Regions from separate parts of the Homo sapiens genome. Here region 2 is linked to region 1. Evidence: promoter capture Hi-C in 16 types of primary human blood cells and fetal thymus (Javierre and others, 2016). All regions are on one chromosome and are shown on one strand. The core of a region is centred on a gene start or on the middle of the fragment in contact, and the rest is flanking DNA. Distances in the headings are between cores, read along the strand shown. Region 1 holds the start of BAIAP3 (BAI1 associated protein 3). Region 2 overlaps JPT2 (Jupiter microtubule associated homolog 2).

The links. The method cuts DNA at HindIII sites, captures the fragments that hold promoters and counts their contacts. A CHiCAGO score of 5 or more calls a contact.
Region 2: a contact is called between a fragment that was not itself captured here and the fragment with the promoter of BAIAP3 in region 1, in 2 of 17 cell types (endothelial precursors and naive B cells). The highest score is 5.4, in endothelial precursors.

The regions. Positions count from the first base shown.
Region 1 is chr16:1,328,059-1,335,251 of GRCh38, forward strand. BAIAP3 (BAI1 associated protein 3) reads left to right here and starts at 5,587. Exons shown (of 34, transcript NM_001199097.2): 1 at 5,587-5,691. It also overlaps the pseudogene RPS20P2. RefSeq lists an enhancer at 3,715-3,764 and silencers at 4,541-4,741, 5,477-5,636. The HindIII fragment of the contact is 32,270 bases long and covers 1-7,193 here.
Region 2 is chr16:1,693,095-1,700,287 of GRCh38, forward strand. It overlaps JPT2 (Jupiter microtubule associated homolog 2), which reads left to right. Exons shown (of 5, transcript NM_144570.3): 4 at 4,718-4,766; 5 at 5,717-7,193. The coding sequence ends at 5,904. Among named protein-coding and RNA genes, the nearest start is that of MAPK8IP3, 9.5 kb to the right of the region's middle. The HindIII fragment of the contact is 5,342 bases long and covers 1,701-7,042 here.

The sequences.
Region 1 (7,193 bases), core at 4,337-6,836:
GGAAGAAATAGGAACAGGCACAAGAAAACCACCGAGCACGTGTGGCTTGGGCTCTTCCTTCCCTGGGCCTCTGCCCTTCCTCCAGGATGCCCTCCGCCGAATAAGGCAAGTTCCCACTCCTCGATGCGGGCTGTGCCTTATTTATTTATTTAGAGATGGAGTCTCACTCTCTCGCCCAGGCTGGAGAGCAGTGGCATGATCTCGGCTCACTGCAACCTCCGCCTCCCGGGTTCAAGCAGTTCTCCTGCCTCGGCCTCCCGAGCCTGGGCTGTGCGTTTAAGGAGGGACTCTGAGGCCGGGCGCGGTGGCTCACGCCTGTAATCTCAGCACTTTGGGAGGCCGAGTTGGGAGGATCACCTGAGGTCAGGAGTTCAAGACCAGCCTGGCCGACATGGCAAATGCCCATCTCCATTAAAGATACAAAAATTAGGCCGGGCGCGGTGGCTCATGCCTGTAATCCTAGCACCTTGGGAGGCTGATGCGGATGGATCACAAGGTCAGGAGTTCAAGACCAGCCTGACCAATATAGTGAAACCCTGTCTCTACTAAAAATACAAAAATTAGCCCTTTGAGGAAGACGTGGTGGTAGGTGCTGTGAATCGCTGATCCGCACGCTCCTGCTCCTGACTCACCACTGTCCGCTCTCGCCAAGGAACAAGCTGGTCAGGAAGCCACGCAGCAGCTATGGCTTTATTATTATTTTTTAAAAATTTATTTATTTTTTGAGACGAAGTCTAACACTGTCGCCCGGGCTGGTGTGTGGTGGGGCGATCTCGGCTCGCTGCGGCCTCCACCTCCCGGGTTCAAGCGATTCTTCTGCCTCAGCCTCCCGAGTGCCTGGGACTACAGGCACACGCCACCACACCTGGCTAATTTTTGTATTTTTAGTGGAGACGAGGTTTCACTATGTTGGCCAGGCTGGTCTCGAACTCCTGACCTCGTGATTCGCCCACCTCGGCCTCCTAAAGTGCTGGGATTACAGGTGTGAGCCACCACGCCCGGCCTAAAAAATTCTTTTGGCTTTTAAGGATACCAGAAAAACACCCAAGGAGCCGGAGATGGCAATTCACCAAAATTCACCAAATTCACCAAAATTCACCAAATTCGCCAAATTCACCAAATTCACCAAAATTCACCAAATCTGAATCACTCTAACGAGCTACAGCATAAAATCACTTGAAAAGGTGTGTGCTGACTTGATCAGAGGCACAAAGGAAAAGAATCTCAAAGTGAAAGGACCGGTTTGAATCCTACCAACACTTTGAGAATCACTACAAGAAAAACTCCAGATGAGGCCAGGTTACAGCTCACGCCGGTAATCCCAGCACTTTGGGAGGCCGAGGCGGGCAGATCACGAGGTCAGGAGATTGAGACCATCCTGGCTAACAGTGAAACCCCATCTCGACTAAAAATACAAACAAATTAGCTGGGCATGGTGGCAGGTGCCTGTAGTCCCAGCTACTTGGGAGGCTGAAGCAGGAGAATGGCGTGAACCTGGGAGGCAGAGCTTGCAGTGAGCCAATACCGCGCCACTGCAGTCCAGTCTGGGCGACGGAGCAAGACTCCATCTCAAAAAAAAACTTATAAAAAAAAAAACTCCAGATGAGCATCCATAAGCAACTCATTGACTTGCACAGTCCTTCTGAGATTGTTAAGCAGATTACTTCCATCAGTATTGAGCCAGGAGTTGAAGTGGAAGTCACCATTGCAGATGCTTAAGTCAACTATTTTAATAAATTGATTACCAGTTGAAAAAAAAAAACAAAAAAATACAAAAATCAGCTGGGCATGGTGGCGGGCGCCTGTAGTCCCAGCTACTCGGGAGGCTGAGGCAGGAGAATCACTTGAACCCAGGAGGCAGAGGTTACAGCCGAAATCACACCACTGCTCTCCAGCCTGGGCAACAGGGCAAGACTCCATCTCAAAAAAAAAAAAGAAAAGGAGGGACTCTGAAGCCCCCAGAGCTGGGAGGAGTCGCCTCCCAACCCCAGCTCTGCACAGAAGGATGCACACTGAGGGCCTGGCCTCTCCCTGCTGGGCCCCTAACCACAGTGAGCACAGAAGCCCATCTCGCTGGGAAGGGGCCTCTGACACCCCCACCCTCAGGCTGGTGGGAGGCGGGGCCAGGGGACAGGGTGCCATCCTCCCTGCCATCCAAGCCTCACCGCAGCAGGGGCTGTCCTGCCTGCAGGGCTCTGGCACACCAATGGCCTTTGTTTGGGGGCTTGGTAGGACCCTGTCTTGGGCCCACTTCTTTGTCCCTGCCCTGCCCTGGACCCCTCACAGATGCTGCTACTAGCACGGAGGCCTGAGAGAACTCCAGCGTGACACTGGGTGGTCACCTCCAGCCGGCCCCACCTGTGCACGCGTGGCAGCAGGACTCCCGGAGCTTCTGGTGTGGGATCTGGAGACCAGCATCTCAGGCATGAGGCCAGACTTGGGCTGAGGCCCTCCCACCCAGAGCCCCTCTCTTGATGGGGCAAGGAACAGGTTCTGGCAGTCTTCAGGGTCCTCCAGCTCCGGGGCAGGCAGGGTCCCTGGCCAGAGTCCCTGGGCTCTGACCCCACGAGCTCTCCAAGGACCCTGCCCTTCCTTGCTTGGGTCCTCAGAGGGAAGTTGGGGGCAGATTCTGGGAGGCTGTGCCTGCAATTTCTAGGGCTGCCACCAGAGGGTGGTAGCACTGGGCCCTGCGCTGTGCTCATGAGCGTGGAACAGGAGGGGCTGTCTAACTCTGCCATGGCCTCACCTGTGTGCTTCAGCGGCTTTGGCGCCTGCGTATCCAGAGCCTGGTGTTTTTACCTGCCCCCCCATCTCCGCCCCCCGCCACCGGCCCGGCCCTAAGGAGGAAAAGCTACTCTCCCTGCCTGCCAGACCCTTTCCAGCACAAAGTCCTGAGAATGTGAAAAGAGCCAGGCTTGAAAAATGGCTTTTCTCAGCTTTGCACAAGCAGCCCTGGTGCCCCAGCAGCCTCCTCAAGCTCTGACCCCGTCTGGGCAGGGGGTCTCGTGTCCCGACACATCGGTGGGAGGTGTTCCTGCACCTGCGCCATCCCCTCACTGTCCCCGGAGCACGGCAGCTGTCTGCACTCCGGTCCGAAGGCAGAGACGCCAGGGTAGCCCCTTCAGAGTGAGGCCTGGGGCTCAGGGTGGGGAGGGTGGGCGGCCCACTCTCCTGCCCTCTCTCTTAGTGGGAGGGGACTCACGCGAGGATGGGCTTCCAGCCCCAAGCTATGGAAAGGTAAATTGGGTCACTGGAGGGGCCGGAGTTCTGGCTGGGTGGCTGCAGTTCCCATCCCCACCAACTGGGACTGAGGCTGACCTGCTGTGAGTTGAGACTGGCTCACTGAGGTCCCCCAGCTGCACCCAAGGTGGGTGCTGCTGTTGTCCCCATTTTACAGAAGAGGGAAACTGAGGCCCGGGCAGTGGAGGGTCGCCCTGGGGCAGGGGTGAGCAGGGTGCTGGGACTTTGATCCAGGTCAGCCTGTCTTCAGCCTCAGAACAAGTTGGAGAATGAAGGCCTTGGTCACTGAGTGGGGTGTCGCTCGGATCGTTCATTCCTCGACTCCTCACCAAATGTTTGTGGAGGGGACAGTCCTAGTGACCGTCCTCTCCTGGGGAAACGGAGGCCCAGGGCTGGTTTGGGACTCAACCTATCACTATGTGGCCCTGGAAAAGCCCTTTCCCGTCTCCGGACTCCAGTCTCCCTACCTAGAAAAGAGTGGGGAGAGGTCTCCAAGGGTGCTCCCGCACCCAACGGACTGCAGTGTTGGTTTCAGGGTTGGTGCTCTCGTAGGGGCCGGAGCAGCGGCTGCCCCTCCCAACTTCCTGTTTACCGTAGCTGCAGAGCCTGTCCCTTCACTTAAAGCCAGTGTGATCACCATGGCAACCGGCCTGTGTTTGTTCCAACAGGTGGGCAGAACCTGGTGCAAGACCGCAGAGGCAGGGGCGTCACTCCCAGACCCGGTCTCCAGACCCACCAGCCCCTCAGGAGAACACTGCTACAGAGTGGGGCTGAGGGCCCAGGCCCCCTCCCCTGCTTCCCCCACCGCGTCCCTGTCCCAGCCAGTCCCTGCATTTCCTGCAAGCTCCCTGCCCTCCCCCACCGGCCTGGCTGTGCTGGGTCAGGATCCGGCAGAGCCTGGGCCGAGCGTCCCGAAGGAGAGCCCACCCAGGGGTCCTGCCCCCGATCCTGCACAGACAGGTGTGGGGCGGGCATGGATTTGAGTGAGTTGGGATCCAGAAGCCAAGACAGTTGTTGGCAGACGGGCCCCCTCCCTTTGAAGAGCTGTGTTCTGGAAGCCTGTCTGGCCTTGGGCTGCCCAGGTGCCCTTCGGGTGAAAACTCCAAAGTCTGACCACCCCCCACCCCTTGTCCCCAAAGGGCTGCGAGTGTCCAGCTGTATTCGACCAAGGGCAGGTGCGACCGGGGGGCCGCTGCGCCCTCGGCAAGTCTGAGAGCCTCAGGCCCCCGACAGGACCATGCTTAGCACGGACTTCTCAAAGTGTGGTCCCTGGACTGGCGGCAGCAGACTGGAGCTGGGAAGTGCAGGCGCTGGCTGGCGTGGGGACCACACCTGTGATCTCAGCGCCTTAGGAGGCCGGGGAAGGGGGATCCCTTGAGCCTGGGAGTTTGAGACCAGCCTGGGCAACATAGGGAGACCCCCATCTCCACAAAAGAAACCAAAAAACATTAGCCGGCGGGTGGTCCCAGCTACTGGGGAGGCTGAAGCGGGAGGACCACTTGAGCCGGAGAGTTCGAGGTTGCAGCGAGTGGAGATGGTGCCACTGCGCTCCAACCTGGTTGAGAGCTATTTTTGAGAGCTTTTTCGAGACTCTGTCTGAAAAAAAAAGGGAAAAAACGCAGATCGCGCCCCCACCCAGACTTCGGGACCAGCGGGTTGGGGACAGGACCCATCAATGCCTTAACAAACCCTGCAGGAGACCGCGGGCCCGCTGGGGTTCCAGGACAGCGCAGCGGAGGAAGAGCGGGGAGCCACCCGGGAGGGGCTGGCGGGGTCCAGTGCAGACCCCAGGGGCTCCGGGGGCTCTGGCCGGCTGTGACCCCACAAGCGCCAACTGGGCCCTCACCAGAGCCCCAGGGACGATCGCCCCACAGACCGTCCGCGTGGGCGTGGGGCGTCCCGAGTGGATCCCTGCAGGACGCATCCCCGCCCCGAGAAGAGAGCGGCGGGGCCCGCGAGGTGTCCCTGAGTCAGGCCCTTCCAGAAAGGTCTGCACCGCTGCTGGTCTTCGTGACCGTGGCTTCCCTGGGGTCCGCGGAGGAGACCCCGCCGACCACCCCCTTCTAGACCCCACGCGCCACGGGGAGGGCGCGCGCGGCCAGGCGGGGTCCCGAGGCAGCCAAGCCCGCTCCCCGTCCCGCAGCCACCTGTGGGTTGACTCACAGCCCCGCATCCCGGGGGAGGGGGCTCCGGCCCGGCTCAAGGCACGGAGACCCCGGCCGGGTCCCCTAAGGCGCCGTGGACGCGGGGGGCGGGGCGAGCGCGGTCAGGCCCCGCCCCGGTCAGGCCCGGCCCCGCCCCCAGTCAGACCCCGCCCCCGCAGCGGCGTCCGCCCAGCAGTTGCTCAGTCGTCGGCGCGCGCGGCTGGGAGCGGTAGCTGTGCCTCGGCGTCCCCGAGCTGGTGCCGAGCGCAGCGCCCCAGGAGCCCCCCCATCCCCGCGCCGGCCCACGGTAAGTGCCGCGGGCTGCGGCCAGTGCTGTTGGGCCGCCGTCTGGGCTCGGCCCCGCGCCCCAACCCGGACGGACCGACGGCCGCCGCCCCCTTGGTCCGGGTCCCCCAGGAGGCACGGGGGTGGCCTCCGAGGCGGGGGGCGGTGGGAAGGTCTCGACGTCCCCTCGGCCCTGGGGAAACTGAGGCCGCGCATGCTTGGAGGGGCGGGGTCTCGGGGGCATTTCCCCTCCGAACGCGCAGGAGAGGGTGCGGCGGTGGGGTCCGCACTGCGGAGCGGACGGGGAGGGTATCCGGGCGCTGGCGACGGCCTCCCCCGCACTTGAGCCGCCAAGCGAGGCTTCGACCCCCGCGCCTCCCTCCCCGGGGGAGCAGACGGGCCCGGGGCCTCCCAGCACCCCTCCCGGGCGGGCTGCACCCCCCAGCGTCCTCGTCCCTTCCCTCCTCCCGCAGGTCCTCGTAAGGCCCTTTAGTCCCCCCGAAATCCCTGCGAGTGCAAAGCGGCCCCTCCTTCAGCCCCACTCGGCAAAGGGCTGTGGGCTCTTGCCTGGGCCGGGGTCTCCGGGGGAGGAGTTTAAAGTGACACACTAGACCCGCCCCCAGACTCACCCCGGACCGCCCGCCCCCTCCGAGGGGAGAGACCCCCATAGAACTGGGGGTGTGGCTCCTGCGGGCGCCCGGGGCCCCGGGAAAGGGGGTGCCGCGAGGCGGGGCAGGGAGGGGGTCGGTGAGCAGAGGGAGGAGGGAGCGCTGCGCAGACACGGGCGAGGGGAGGAAGAAGGCGCCTCGGGCTCCGGTCTCCTGCGCTCCTGCTGGGCGCCAGCGGCTGGACCTTGGCAGCCGTCTGAGGCTTCGGGGAGCCCAAGGCCACCGGCAGCGCTTGTTAGAATGCAGATTCCCGGGGTTCGACTGGAATGAGACCCCGGGGAGCAGCGTTTGCAGCGGGCCCGCCAGGTGACCTGCACCTGGGCACCGCCATCGGCTTCGCAGGGGCCATCTGGAGGAGTCGGTGAGACCAGGGAGAGATTCCTGCGGGAAACCCCCAGGGCCTGGTGAAGGGGAGTCGGGGGGCTGAGGGAGGAAGAGCAGGGAAGCTGGAGAGAAGACCAAGAGGGCAGCGTGGAGAGCCAGCCTGTGGGGCAGATGTCCTGCCACCTCCCGCCCCAGGCACACACCCAGGGCACCATCAGCTAACCCCCTGCCCCAAATGTGGTAAGAAGGGCGCCCCCAACACGTTGAAGGCGTTTGTTCCTAGACAGCCTGCACTGGGGAGGAAGGCTGACCCAGCCTCTGCTCCGCTGCCCCCAGACTCAGCTGCCTCACTGCCCCCAACCCTGAGCCCCCAAATGGCCTGGCAGGAGACAGCTTGGCTTAAGAGTCCCAGGTTCACATCTGGGCTCTGGGCAAGTCGCCCCCACCCTGGGCTGTGAAATGAGATGTGCCATCCTCCTTGCAAAATGTCATTCCCCATTCAGCCCAGGCCTGGGGGACAGCCAGGGAGCAA
Region 2 (7,193 bases), core at 3,122-5,621, 360 kb after region 1:
TCGTTTTATTTTGTTTTTTCTTTGAAATAGAGTCTCATTCTGTTGCCCAGGCTGGAGTGCAGTGGCACGATCTCAACTCACTGCAGCCACTATCTCCTGGGTTCAAGCAATTCTGCCTCAGCGTCCCGAGTAGCCAGTGTTACATGCATGCACCACCACGTCCGGCTAATTTTTGTATTTTTAGAAGAGACAGGGTTTCACCATGTTGGCCAGGCTGGTCTTGAACTCCTGTCCTCCAGTGATCCACCCGCTTCAGCCTCCCAAAGTGCTGGGATTACAAATGTGAGCCACTGTGCCCTGCCATGCTGTCTGAGTTATTTTCAAGAGAGCATCTATTTGGGAAGTATCTTTGGGGGCTTTACTACAAGGTGAACTTTGGCAAGACCAGAAATGTCCCAAAAGTCAGCAATTCCTCTACTACGTAAAGCACTCGAATTAGCCGGACACGAGAGCAAGGTGCTTCCTGCTGAGACTCACACTTTCCAGTGAACGTAGATCAGGTAGAGGACTGTAGGACATCAGTACAACTGGGCATAGAACAAGTGGAAACAGAGTAGAGCTTTCTTTGATTTTCTAATAAAGTTCTTTTGGTCCAGGACCATTGGACATCGCTAGCATCACCAGAGAAATGACTAATTCCAGGTCAGGGTCAGGGAATATACAAAATAAGCGTAGAATATCTCGTAATGCCAGAAAATGAGGAAGCCCTTACAGGCTGCTAGGGTGGTGTCAGAGGACTTGGGGAACAAGGTGAAGAGCAGCCATGGGGCCAGAGATGGGACCATTTGATTATCAAAAAGTGAAATAATTGCAGTGGATTTAAATTCACCAACTGTTCAGAATTCCCGGCTTCCTATTGATACTAAAAGTAATGTAATTTACGACCTTGGGAGAATGCTGGAGGACCGGCTCGTCACTGCGAAAGCGGGCAGATGACAGAAGGGGGCATTTAGCCAGCATTTCCTGCATGAAGTGTGTGTTAGGATAGCAGCTGTTGAAAGAAAGTTCCCTTTTATAAAAGTTTCTGGGATGTAAGTGAAGAAGGAATAAAGGAATTAGAATATCACTGTTTTATAAACTTGTACTGAAATCGTGGATCTGAGAAAATGTTCATCAGTGGCCGTTAACATCACAAAATGAGAGAGAACCAACACTTATGGGCCTGGGAATGGAAATCCACCATGGGCCCCCATTGACGCTGTTTCGTCAAAAAAATCAAGCTCAAATCAGACCAAGCCACATATTAATTAACACCACAGAGCTGCGCTCAGAACAATGGCTTACATAGGAAACAACATGACGAGAATAGAGGGAGGTCCTGAGGATTAAAGAGAGACAAGAATGTAGCCCTATAAGAGTCCTAATGGTGTTTTATTCTGTAATGGGAAAAAAGTCCTATAATTCATATGGAATTTCATGGTACCCCAAGTATCCAAAAATAATAATAATTGAAAAAGATGTTGGAGCTCTTACTTCCTGCTCTCAAATCTTACTGCAAAGCAACGGTAATCCAAACAGCATGGCACTGGCATGAAGACAGACACACTGACCAGTGGAGTCAAGTTGAGAACTGAGAAATAAAGCCTTCCAAAGGGCTTTTTTTTTTTTCACAAGGGTGCCAAGATCATCCAGTGGGGAAAGAACAGTCTCTTTAGCAAATGGCATTGGTACAATTGCATATGCACATGCAGAAGGATAAAAGCTTACTCTTTCTTACACCATACACAAGAATGAACTCAAAATGGATCGAAGACCTAAAGTTAAGGGCAAAAACTATAAAATTCTTAGAAGAAAATATAGGGACAAATCTTCATGACCCTGGATTTGGCAATGGAGGTTTAGATATGACACCAAAAACAGAGGCAACAAAATTAAAAATAAATTGGGCCGTGCATGGTGTCTCACACTTGTAATCCCAGTACTTTGGAAGGCCAAGGTGGGAGAATCACTTGAGCCCAGGAGTTCCAGACCAGCCTGGACAACATAGAGAGACCTCAACTCTAAAAAAACTTTTTTTTAACTAGCTGGGGGCTGGGTACAGTGGCTCATGCCTGTAATCCCAGCACCTTGGGAGGCCGAGGCAGGCGGATCACCTGAGGCCGGGAGTTCGAGACCAGCCTGACCAACATGGAGAAACCCCGTCTCTACTAAAAGTATAAAATTAGCCGGGCCTGGTGGCACATGCTTGTAATCTCAGCTACTCGGGAGGCTGAGGCAGGAGAATCGCTTGAACCCAGGAGGTGGAGGTTGCAGTGAGCTGAGATCGTGCTATTGCACTCCAGCCTGGGCAACAAGAGCGAAACTCCGTCCCAAAAAAAAAAAAAAAAATCAGTTGCGTATGGTTGCGTGCACCTGTGGTCCTAGTTACCTGGGAGGCTGAGGTGGGAAGATTGCTTGAGCCCAGTTGTTCAAGGCTGCAGAGAGCAGTGATTTTGCCATTTGCACTCCAGCCTGGGTGACAGAATGAGATCCTGTCTCAAAAAAATTATAAAAAGCCTAGGCATAGTGGCTCATGCCTATAACCCCAGCACTTTGGGAGGCTGAAGCAGGCAGATTGCTTGAGCCTAGGATTTTGAGACCAGCCTGGGCAGCATGACAAAACCCCTTCTCCACAAAAATACAAAAAATTACCCGGGCATGGTGGTGCACACCTGTGGTCCCAGCTGTTCAGGAGGCTGAGTTGGGAGGATCACTTGAGCCCAGGAGGCAGAGGTTGCAGTGAGCTAAGATCATGCAACTGCACTCCAGCATGGGCAACAAGCAAGACTGTCTGAAAAAATAAGTAAATAAATAGGTCTTCATTAAAGTTATAAACTTCTGTGCATCAAAGGACACTATAAAGAATGAAAACAGGCCAGGCACAGTGGCTAACACCTGTAATCCCATCACTTTGGGAGGCCGAGGTGGGCAGATCACCTGAGGTCAAGAGTTCGAGACCAGCCTAGCCAACATGGTGAAACCCCATGTCTACTAAAAATACGAAAACTAGCCGGGCATGATGGTGGATGCCTGTAATCCCAGGTACTCGGAAGACTGAGGCAGAAGAATCAACTGAACCTGGGAGGCTGAGGTTGCAATGAGTTGAGACTGCGCCATTGCACTCCAACCTGAGTGACAGAATGAGACTCTGTCTCAAAAAAACAAAAAACAAACAAAAAAGCCTGGGCACAGTGGCTCACACCTGTAATCCCAGCAATTTGGGAGGCTGAGGCAGGCGGATCACGAGGTCAGATCAAGACCATCCTGGCTAACATGGTGAAACCCCGTCTCTACTAAAAATACAAAAAAAGTAGCTGGGCGCCTGTACTCCCAGCTACTCTGGAGGCTGAGGCAAGAGAATTGCTTGAACCCAGAAGGCAAAGGGCGCAGTGAGCCGAGATTGCGCCACTGCACTCCAGCCTGGGCAACAGAGTGAGACTCCGTGTCAAAAAAAAAAAAAAGTGAAAAGATAACTCGCAGAATGGGAGGAAATATTTGCAAATCATTTCTGATAAGGAGTTACTATCCAGAATACATAAAGAATGCCTACAACTCAACAACGAAATAACAAACCCAATTCAAAAATGGTAGTGGACTTGAATATACATTTCTCCAAAGAAGAGATACAAGCAGCCAAAAACCACCCGAAAAGATGGTCAGTGTTATTAATAACTGGGGACATGCACATCAGAAACCCGTGAGATGCCAGTGCATGCCTGTTCGGATGGTGTGATGTAAAAATGGAAAATACGAGTTGGTGAGGATGCAGAGAAACTGGAGCCCTCGTGCATTGCTAGTGGGATTGGAAGATGGTGCAGTGGCTGTGGATACTGCCAGTTCCTCAGAGTTAAACAGGATTACCATATGACCGAATAATTCCACTCTTAAGTACGTACTCACAAGATTTGAAAACAAGGAGTCAAACACTAGATCCTTGCACCAGGATTATTCACAGTAGCCCAAGGGCGGGAATGACTCATTTGTCCATCAACAGATGAATGGGTAAACAACATGTGGTCTGTCCATACAATGGAATATTACTCAGCCATAGAAAGGAATGGAGCATTGACACACGCTACAGCATGGATGAAATTATTATGGATGAAATATTACAGCATGGATGAAATATTATGCCAGTATTTAAAAATTTGACTTTGAGGCTGGGCACAGTGGCTCACGCCTATAATCCCAGCACTTTGGGAGGCTGAGGCACGCAGATCACTTGAGTCCAGGAGTTTGAGATGAGCTGGGCAACGTGGCAAAACCCTGTCTCTACAAAAAATAGAAAAATTAGCCAGGTGTGGTGGCTCACGCCTGTAGTCCCCACTACTCGGGAGGCTGAGATGTGAGGATCGCTTCAGCCCAGGAGGCAGAGGCTGCAGTGAGCCAAGATCATGCCACCGCACTCTAGCCTGAATGACTGAACAAGACTCTTGTCTCCAAAAAAAAAAAAAAAATTGACTTTGATATTTAAGGAATCATTAATATTCGCAGTTTTGAGGGTGCTACTGTTATTTTTTAAAGGATGTTTTAAGAGCTACATCTTGAAATATGTATGGATAAATGAAATATCAGGTTTGTTTCAGAATAGTCTGTAGAGGATTGGGGGGGTCCTGAGGTCAGATATACAAGCATTTTTGTAAATTAAAAGGTTATATGGTCCTGATTTTCATTGTCCATTTGAATGAGGGTAAAATTTTCTGAGTGAGTCCTGATTTGGTGGTTTGCCTTGTTGCAGGATCATGTTTTCTTATGTGAAGGAGAAGAACCAAAATCGGATCTTAAAGGTGAGCTTTTGTTTTCTTTCCCTTCTCCTGAGTGGCCTCATTATTTCTGGAAGAGTTGCTAGTCTCTCCTCTGGGAATGAAAAGGAGTCTTTCTTTGCACCTTCTGGGCCACCTGATTAAAACGAGCTCAGGTGTATCCACTGCAAGAGGATTCAGCATTTGAAGAAGGCTAGGGTGAAACCCTGGGACTTGGTTGTCTTGCTCATCAGCCTAGGCCCAGGGCCATGGGGTCGTCTCCTAGAAGCTCATCTGTGTAGTGATGGGCAGGGATCCCAAACCTTCAGTGAACTCATGACCAAGCATAGAGCTGGCAGAACTAATCGAGAAGAGAGGGGCACAAGAGAGGGATGGAGGATGGGGAGGCGGGTGTCTCCATGGTGAGTCACCCCGGGGGAGTGAGCCACTGCTCAGGTTGAGCGGCAGACTTCGACTCTCCCCACGGCTCTTTAGCCTGACCATGGGCATCGGTTTCTGCCTTTGGGTCTCCATTTCCCTTAACTAATGACCAAGATTTGTGGGATTTCATTCACCTTTGAAAAGCCCAGGGTAACAGCAACAGAGCCTGCCTTTGCCTTGCTAAGCCCTCACCTAGGATGCATTCCCTCGCCGCCTCATGGTCACTCTCAGGGGCTTGCTTTCTATACTTGAGATGGAAGAAATGGGAGTGGTGTCTAACAAGCAATATAAAGAAACAATTCACTTAGGAAGAAATCAAGGAGTATTTACAGTAGCAAGCCCCAACTTTATGCCCATTTCAAAACTGCATCTGCTAATTACAGTGAGTTGTTTTGGTACCAGATGAAAAGCCTGTCTATATTGTCTTCTCTTTCCCAGTTACAGCATGAATTTCTTGCAGGTTGCTCTATGACACACTTTTTATTTCCACAGCCTGCCTGTCAGGGTCATGGGTTGCCTCTAATGGGATGTTGTTCTAACTTTGTGTCCCACAGCTGCAAGGAGCATCCCGGCTGGAGCAGAGCCAGGTGAGAAAGGCAGCGCCAGAAAAGCAGGCCCCGCCAAGGAGCAGGAGCCCATGCCCACAGTCGACAGCCATGAGCCCCGGCTGGGGCCGCGGCCTCGCTCTCACAACAAGGTCCTGAACCCACCGGGAGGCAAATCCAGCATCTCCTTCTACTAAGAGAAGCCACTGCTCCACCCGGAGCCAGACCAGAAACTCAAGAGATAGGGTAGCCATGTTTTCATTTCCTTTTGCCCAAATGAGCGGGGTGGGAAGAGGGTTAGTCTTATGTGAGCCTGGCTGCTCAGCGTCTCCTGGCCGTCATGACAGCTGCTTGGAGACCCGTGCCTTCCAGATGGCTGGGAGATGCCTCTGTGGGGATGAAATGGGGCACCCCTGGCCATCACTCATGTGTAGTCCAGGTTTGAGAGGAACTGGAAGGGGGGTGAGGGTGGGGAGGTGGGGCAGGGCATGGTCCTTGGATCAACAGCCCGCCAGCTGATTGGATGTCTAGGAATGACTGAAAGAAACCAAAACAGCCTGTCCACTGCTGCTGTGGGATGGAGGAGGCGTAAGCAGAAACACTAACAGTATATTGACCTCTTAGCAGAACCGCTTCCATTCTGGAGATCACGGCTGCTAAATCCAGCATCCCCACTTCATTTTACCCCCAGCATATTGTTCTGTAGTCTTTTCTTGAAACATCTTGATTGCTTTTCCTCGGCAGCTTTCAAAAAACCAAATAATAATAGTTATCCGTCTTCTACTTCATGGAAGATTGTTTTGGTGCCCTGACCCTCTGAAGTGCCCAGTTCCTGCCATCTGAAACCTCGGCCTGATCTGATCTCATGTTGGAATCTGCCTGTCTTTCACACAGGGCTGGTCTTGGTCCTTTACATGCCAGTTTTGCTTGTGAATTCTTGCTTTTTTCCTCTCATCAGCCTTAAGTTTAGGCGTTTGTTGTTCTCCAGTGATGTAGACAGTTCCCTTCACAAGTCACAGTTCTTCCCATAAATGAGGCCCGCTGACCTCTGCGGGACTTTAAAAATCTATTCAGATATTTCCGAGTAAGTGGCTTGTTTAAATTCTTCCTGTGTCTTTCTTTATTCCTTAATTGGTTGGTGGAAAGAAGAGATGCTTGGGAACCTTGGGTTCTTAGGTTTGGATTCTTTAATAATATCTAAAAAGCTAAATTTTAAATACCAGCTTTACATAAATGATTGTTGACTCTGGTCTGTTTCTGACACCTTTCCAGAAAAAAGTCAATTGTTCAGGTACACCAAAGAGGAAGAAGAGCTGTGGAGGCCACCCTCTACAAAGCTTTATAGAACTTCTGGATCTAACTCACAAACAAGCTTCCAGAAGAGACTAGAGACCTTAGGCCAGGAGATGAAGGAGTTCAGTAGCAAAGTCACACCTGTCCAATTCCCTGAGCTTTGCTCACTCAGCTAATGGGATGGCAAAGGTGG